Regions from separate parts of the Homo sapiens genome. Here regions 2 and 3 are each linked to region 1. Evidence: promoter capture Hi-C in 16 types of primary human blood cells and fetal thymus (Javierre and others, 2016). All regions are on one chromosome and are shown on one strand. Each heading gives the region's core, a stretch centred on a gene start or on the middle of the fragment in contact. The rest is flanking DNA. Distances are from core to core; before and after follow the strand shown.

Evidence for each region. Contacts are between HindIII fragments. The CHiCAGO score rates a contact against its expected background, and 5 or more counts as called.
Region 2: the fragment with the promoter of OR5M10 here is called in contact with the fragment with the promoter of OR5T3 in region 1 in 5 of 17 cell types (M0 macrophages, erythroblasts, total B cells and 2 more); the score reaches 6.0 in M0 macrophages.
Region 3: the fragment with the promoter of OR5W2 here is called in contact with the fragment with the promoter of OR5T3 in region 1 in 5 of 17 cell types (non-activated CD4 T cells, erythroblasts, M2 macrophages and 2 more); the score reaches 7.4 in non-activated CD4 T cells.

What each region holds. Positions count from the first base shown.
Region 1 is chr11:56,250,828-56,253,527 of GRCh38, reverse strand. It overlaps OR5T3 (olfactory receptor family 5 subfamily T member 3), which reads right to left and starts at 1,274. Exons shown (of 1, transcript NM_001004747.2): 1 at 306-1,274. The coding sequence starts at 1,274. The coding sequence ends at 306. The HindIII fragment of the contact is 3,630 bases long and covers 1-2,700 here.
Region 2 is chr11:56,576,385-56,579,169 of GRCh38, reverse strand. It overlaps OR5M10 (olfactory receptor family 5 subfamily M member 10), which reads left to right and starts at 1,449. Exons shown (of 1, transcript NM_001004741.1): 1 at 1,449-2,396. The coding sequence starts at 1,449. The coding sequence ends at 2,396. The HindIII fragment of the contact is 7,953 bases long and covers 1-2,555 here.
Region 3 is chr11:55,913,213-55,915,912 of GRCh38, reverse strand. OR5W2 (olfactory receptor family 5 subfamily W member 2) reads left to right here and starts at 1,331. Exons shown (of 1, transcript NM_001001960.1): 1 at 1,331-2,263. The coding sequence starts at 1,331. The coding sequence ends at 2,263. The HindIII fragment of the contact is 7,753 bases long and covers 1-2,700 here.

The DNA.
Region 1 (2,700 bases), core at 25-2,524:
ATTCACTTACTAGTTATAAGTGTGTAACTGATTTTTACTTACTGTGAAAGCTGTTGTTAGTAGTGTGTGGTTGGTAACAATAACAATATATTTATATCAAATAATATTTAATATAGATCTCTGAACAAATTAATTGGCAAATATGTGATGCAATTTGTTTACATTTGAAAAATGCTGCATTGGCAGGCTGCTTAATGCTTTTTTGAAACTATTCTTTGATATGCAAATACTTTAACTAAAATATAGAGATGTGAACTCTGACACTCAACATTTTTTTCAGGTTTACTCAATTTTAAATATATTCTTCATTTGTAAACCAATTTCAACATTTTCTTCACTGCCTTTTTTACTTCTTTGTTCCTCAAACTATAGATGATGGGATTCAACTTGGGAATCACAATTGTGTAAAATATTGACACTATGATGTCATGGTCTGAAGCATAGCTGGAACTTGGTCTCATATAACTGACGAGAATTGTTCCATGATAAATTGTCACTCCAGTTAGGTGAGAGCCACATGTAGAGAAGGCCTTTTGCCTTCCCTTAGCAGAATGCATCTTCAGAATGGACAACAGAATGAAATCACAGGAAATGAGGACAATCAGGATAGTGACTATCTCAATAGAACCCACAAAGTAGAAGAGTAGAAGCTGGTTTGTGTGAGTGTCAGAACAAGAAATAGCAAGGAGAGGAGGCATATCACAAAAGACATGCCTAATTTCATTGGATCCACAGAAGGACAGGCTAAATGTAGCCACTATATGTATAGTAGCATGTAAAATGCCAGCAACGTAGGAAGCAGTGATGAGTGGCACATAGACTCTGGGTGACATGCTCACTGAATACAGGAGAGGGTTGTAGATGGCTACATAGTGATCATAAGCCATTGCAGCCAAGAGAAAACATTCTGTAGTTCCAAAAGTAACAAAAAGAAGCATCTGTGTTGCACATCCGATAAATGAAATGGATTTATTTTTTGCCAGGAAATTGACCAACATTTTTGGAGTGACAACTGTAGAATAGCAAGCATCCAAGAATGATAAAACACTAAGAAAATAATACATGGGGTTGTGGAGCCAGGAATCCTCAATGACCAACACAACCAGCCCTAAATTGCCTATCAAGGTAAAGAGATAGATTGCAAAAAATAGTAAAAATAGGAAGACTTGCAGCTCAAAATCATCTGTGAAGCCTGTCAATATAAACATGGTGACTTCAGTCTTGTTCTTCAGTGGATTCCTGTATATATCCAAACCTGATGACAACTTGTCCATTTCAGTTTTTACTTGCAGGTTATAAAGGTTATAGCCTGTGAAAGTGGAGTCCATTCAATTGTATCCTTGTTTTTTTCTTGGGGCATAATAATTTCCCTGATAGTAATGGAATAGACAATGATGAAGTAATTGGAGCCAAATAGATGAATTTCACTGTATAAGTAAAAGGAAAAAAAATATGTAATTAATTTCTTGGCTAAATTTATCATGTTTTTAAAAAACCCTGCTAATTAAAGTGATTTTATTTTCCAGTTAATTTTCAGTTGAAATTTTTACTGCTTCCTCTCATATTATGTCCTAAAGCTCACAAAGATTGCTGAATGTAGAAATATTTAAAACTAAATATGTTATAGTGGAAAGCACACACTTGAGTACACTTTTAGATTTGTGATGAAGTACATGAAATGTCTTTTGTAAATGTTCACAATTTTAAAATAAGAGAAACCACACTCACAGCACAGTTGAATTTAAATGTTTAAAAATATCAAAACTATTTAATTTAAAAGGCTTCCAAATGACTAGAAAATGGGGATAAGTCAGACATACATTTCAACTTGTCGCATGCAGCAGCCTTTTTAAATAAAACCATTTCATGTCCTCTGTTCTGGCAATTATCTTGTTCCATTACATAGAAGAGCAGACTGTATTCTGGAGATAGACGTACCTTTACAAACATTACAATGTGTTTTATTTTCAGGATTTTTTCTTCCTGAAATATATATCACCTAGTTGGCAAATTTTGGCCTCTGTACCTTGTTTATCATAACTGTTTTTAAATTTCAACTTAATAACAATGTGAGATATATCTTACTAATAATTCATATGTTTGTTATTTTTGCAAAGTCCTTGGATGTATTTTATTTTATTTTATTTTATATTTCTGTTAAAAATAAATCATGGCCATTCTTTTAGTATATTATAGTTGCTTTTAGAGTTTCTAAAATTACTATGAAATAAAAATCACCAATAATAACTAATAAAAATTATAGAATATCTGGCTAAAAAATAACATTACTATATTTGCAAGAAAGTAGTGTTTGTCCTCTGGACTTCTTTCCTGATGGTATCATTCTGTTTCACATTGACAAGTATGAAGAAAGACAATTACACAACCAAAAATAAATAAATAATTAAAAGAAAAAAGGTAACAAGGTTACAGGGACTTCTGTATCTAGACTGAAAACCTGTTATTGAAACGGTTTAGTACTACATACACTAAATTTAGAGGTAAAATTAGAGGGGAGATTTAAGCAAGGTGACTTTGTTTTTCTTTTATCATGTCATAGATTATGAAAGTTTTAAAAGGGGTGACAACTCTGTCATATGCAGGTCCATTCTGAATTCAGTGACTTACAAATGATTTATATTCATGATGTGAGACATACCAAAATTTTGTCATGTTAAGATGACCACACATTAAGAAGAG
Region 2 (2,785 bases), core at 200-2,699, 330 kb before region 1:
TAAAATCAATTATATGCAAGCTCCTCTGATGTATATGTGAGAGCTAAATAAGCAATTTCTTTAGGGTGCAAATTTTTGAGCAATAATTTTTACAGTCATAGCTTATTTTCATGAAGAACTCAGAGAGAGTGGCTTGAGTTGGCAGCAAAGACTGCTTTTAACAATGTTCTGTGATTCTCTAACAATATTTTAATAAGTAGTTTAGTGGCATATAAATGGAGACAAAAAAACTTCACTCTCTTCCTTCAGGTGCTATAATTGTTTATTTACTGTTCAAATGTTGCATTCTCAGAAAAGGCTACTTTGAATAGTCATCTAAAAGAATCTCACATTCATTGTTCTTCACAGACCCAGCTTTTACTTGAAATTATAATATGTATCTTTCTCTGTGGGTTTAACCATTATTTCTCATATTATAATGTGAGCTCCATGAAACTGGAAAATTTGTTCACTCCAATAACCCCAGGAATTGTAATACACACAAAAAAATCAAGCTATGCAGTCAGTGTACATGAATAAACAGGCAGGTAAAATTTCAAAGTGAAAAAACAGTTCTTGGTTTTGTATATTCTTAGCCATATATCAAGCACTAAGTTTAACTAATTTAATGTTCACTGACAATCATAGGTTTCTGTTTGTTTGTTTGTTTGTTTGTTTGAGACGGAGTCTCGCTCTGTCGCCCAGACTGGAGTGCCCTGGTGTGATCTCGGCTCACTGCAAGCTCCGCCTCCCGGGTTCACGCCATTCTCCTGCCTCAGCCTCCCGGTAGCTTGGACTACAGGCGCCCGCCACTACGCCTGGCTACTTTTTTGTATTTTGAGTGGAGATGGGGTTTCACAGTGTTAGCCAGGATGGTCTTGATCTCCTGACCTCGTGATCTGCCCGCCTCGGCCTCCCAAAGTGCTAGGATTACAGGCGTGAGCCACCGCGCCCGGCCGACAGTCATAGGTTTTAAGTGAAAATGCTACCTTAATTTTTTTCTTCTGTTTTGTATCTGAAATAATAAGATATCAGACATGGAGGGAAACTGAAGATTGGACTTCCTACATTTATTTATTTAAATGATGCTAATATTAATATCTGATATTCATTTCTTTGTTTTTTTTGTTCCCTCACAAACCTTGAAAATAATTACCAAATGTAGAATTCACCAAGAAGACAAGTATAAATGCATTAATGTATAAATTTATAAATGTATATATATAAGAGACAGAAATAGAGAATGTGCCTGTGTGTGTGTGGGTTTGAGATACAAAAAGAGACAGAAAACACACACATATAAAGAGAAAACGTTGTGCAGAAATTCTGATGTGTTTATTGAAAAAAGTAATTGGTGCCTAGATGAATAGATGAATGAGTGAATGATAAATGGATGAAACAAATGCCAAATCTGGATCAGAGAGAATCCTCACATTCTTTGTCACTTTCAGTTTTCAAGAAATAAGAAGATGTTGTCCCCAAACCACACCATAGTGACAGAATTCATTCTCTTAGGACTGACAGACGACCCAGTGCTAGAGAAGATCCTGTTTGGGGTGTTCCTGGCGATCTACCTAATCACACTGGCAGGCAACCTGTGCATGATCCTGCTGATCAGGACCAATTCCCAACTGCAAACACCCATGTATTTCTTCCTTGGTCACCTCTCCTTTGTAGACATTTGCTATTCTTCCAATGTTACTCCAAATATGCTGCACAATTTCCTCTCAGAACAGAAGACCATCTCCTACGCTGGATGCTTCACACAGTGTCTTCTCTTCATCGCCCTAGTGATCACTGAGTTTTACTTCCTTGCTTCAATGGCATTGGATCGCTATGTAGCCATTTGCAGCCCTTTACATTACAGTTCCAGGATGTCCAAGAACATTTGCATCTCTCTGGTCACTGTGCCTTACATGTATGGCTTCCTTAATGGGCTCTCTCAGACACTGCTGACCTTTCACTTATCCTTCTGTGGCTCCCTTGAAATCAATCATTTCTACTGCGCTGATCCTCCTCTTATCATGCTGGCCTGCTCTGACACCCGTGTCAAAAAGATGGCAATGTTTGTAGTTGCAGGCTTTACTCTCTCAAGCTCTCTCTTCATCATTCTTCTGTCCTATCTTTTCATTTTTGCAGCGATCTTCAGGATCCGTTCTGCTGAAGGCAGGCACAAAGCCTTTTCTACGTGTGCTTCCCACCTGACAATAGTCACTTTGTTTTATGGAACCCTCTTCTGCATGTACGTAAGGCCTCCATCAGAGAAGTCTGTAGAGGAGTCCAAAATAATTGCAGTCTTTTATACTTTTTTGAGCCCAATGCTGAACCCATTGATCTATAGCCTACGGAACAGAGATGTAATCCTTGCCATACAACAAATGATTAGGGGAAAATCCTTTTGTAAAATTGCAGTTTAGGCCTGTGTTTATTTGTAATCCCTAAGTGCCTGTGGGGTAACAAACTGAAATGGAAAAACCTAGTGTAGTTATTATTTAACAGTATGGGCTCTTAGTAACCACTTTAGTTTCTTCTCAAAATTAACACTTTGAAGATTTAGTTTTTAAAAATAAAAAGCTTAATGTTGAAATTAATAATGTTTTATTTGTCAGAGATTCTATGAATATAAATTGTTTGGTTTCTAATAATTCTGTATGAAAATACTGGGTTTACTTACTTGGGGGTAAACTTTTAACTAACTTAGCCTGAGAGAAACTCTGAAAATCCAACCCCTTTGAATATTACTATCCATAGAGCCATAGTGAGGCTCCAGATAGGGTGGCTAATTTTACATTTTTAAAAAAATGAT
Region 3 (2,700 bases), core at 82-2,581, 340 kb after region 1:
CATACCAGAGGTAAGGACAGAAAGACTTGCTCATCTCAGGTAGGTTTCTGAATGATCAATTTAAAGGACAGAGGAAAAATTTTGGAAAAATAAGAAATCATGTATTAAGGAATTTACAAATGAATGATTTTATAGATGCTTACTCAGTTGAAGCACCTCTGGAATCTAATGGCCAAACAATGATATTTTCTTATTGGATCTGTGTGAATTTGACTGACCTTACTTGTCATTGTAAGAGGATAATATAGATTTCACCCATTTATATTTTAATCAACCTTCATAAGTAAATCATTACTTTAAAAAATCACTGTACCTGTGATATTATTTTAGATGTAAATTTAAGATAGGTTCTAGATTTACTCAAATAATAATAGAGGTAACACATTACAGATATTAATTTATGAAAATTCAAGTTCTTAAGGTACATGCCATAATATTTAAGTCTAGAAGAAATAACAATCAGACCCACCCCACATTTCAATTTTCATATAACAGACACACACAGGCACACACACACACACAAGAGTAAGTGCACATATAACACAAGCAACAGAAGCCTATATATTTCAGAAACACTTATTGTTCTTCACATTTTGATTTTAATGAAAAAGTCAATTATAAGCAAATATAAGTAGTCTGTTGTTCACACTTCTTTTACCACTTACATTTGGCTTTTGTTTTTTAGAACCAGATAAGTCATCCAAATGGATTATAAATGCTGTGACAAACCAGTGATGATGAGTAACAGTTAAATAAAACATTTTTCTTTTCCAGTAAGCACTAACGACACCACATCAAAAACAGTACCATAATAATTTTCTCTTATTAACTTACATGTAATATCACTGTCAGTGGTAGAAAAATGTATATATTTCTTGAATAATGCAATAAATATGATCCTTTTTTGTCAAATATATGAGATGCTTAGTCCGGTATGTTCTGGCCCTTGTGACTCTAACTATGGTGTTTCTTTCACATCCTTTTGGATCTGTACTGAGCTTTCAGTTTAATCAAATTGACTGCCTTAGATTGTACAATAGAAGCAAAGACAAATGATATATGTCAGAAATTGCATGTAAGTTTAGATTCAAAGTTGATCAACTTCCTTTGGCAGACACTTTTAGGGTTTTTTTTTTTTAATACAGTAATAATGCCTCTTTGAAAGTGACACTCACCTGGGATACTTTTTGAGGGTAAAGAAGATAATTTACATAAACAAATCTTGTTCTACTTTACAGATAATTTTTTTTTTGATATCTTGGAAAGTCAAGTTCTAGACTGTCATTCTCGTAATGATTTCTGTAGCAGTTTGAAACAAGAACAAGGAAGAATGGACTGGGAAAATTGCTCCTCATTAACTGATTTTTTTCTCTTGGGAATTACCAATAACCCAGAGATGAAAGTGACCCTATTTGCTGTATTCTTGGCTGTTTATATCATTAATTTCTCAGCAAATCTTGGAATGATAGTTTTAATCAGAATGGATTACCAACTTCACACACCAATGTATTTCTTCCTCAGTCATCTGTCTTTCTGTGATCTCTGCTATTCTACTGCAACTGGGCCCAAGATGCTGGTAGATCTACTTGCCAAGAACAAGTCAATACCCTTCTATGGCTGTGCTCTGCAATTCTTGGTCTTCTGTATCTTTGCAGATTCTGAGTGTCTACTGCTGTCAGTGATGGCCTTTGATCGGTACAAGGCCATCATCAACCCCCTGCTCTATACAGTCAACATGTCTAGCAGAGTGTGCTATCTACTCTTGACTGGGGTTTATCTGGTGGGAATAGCAGATGCTTTGATACATATGACACTGGCCTTCCGCCTATGCTTCTGTGGGTCTAATGAGATTAATCATTTCTTCTGTGATATCCCTCCTCTCTTATTACTCTCTCGCTCAGATACACAGGTCAATGAGTTAGTGTTATTCACCGTCTTTGGTTTTATTGAACTGAGTACCATTTCAGGAGTTTTCATTTCTTATTGTTATATCATCCTATCAGTCTTGGAGATACACTCTGCTGAGGGGAGGTTCAAAGCTCTCTCTACATGCACTTCCCACTTATCTGCGGTTGCAATTTTCCAGGGAACTCTGCTCTTTATGTATTTCCGGCCAAGTTCTTCCTATTCTCTAGATCAAGATAAAATGACCTCATTGTTTTACACCCTTGTGGTTCCCATGTTGAACCCCCTGATTTATAGCCTGAGGAACAAGGATGTGAAAGAGGCCCTGAAAAAACTGAAAAATAAAATTTTATTTTAAGGAAATAGTAAAAATACATGTTTATACACACAAAAATGCATATTCATACTGGTGTTTTCTTCAAATTATATATTATAACATAAAGTTGTCTCAAATACCCTAATTTAATATAATACATATTTTACTCAGCCACAATCTAGCAATTCTCTGGAATTGTCTAAATATGCTATTTTTTTAATGTGTTTTCAATTTAGGTAAGGTAATTTCTCTATATTTGAAAAATGCTCCAGTCTTTGAGTTAGTGGGGCAAATTTTTATTTGTTTAATATATATTTCAGAGTAATTTTTCTTTTTTTCTTTTCTTTTTTTTTTTGTGATGGAATCTGACCCTATTGCCCAGGTTGGAGTGTAGTGGTGCAATCTCGGCTCACTGCAACCTCCGCCTCCCTGGTTCAAGTGATTCTCATGCTTCAGCCTCCCGAGTAGCTGGGATTACA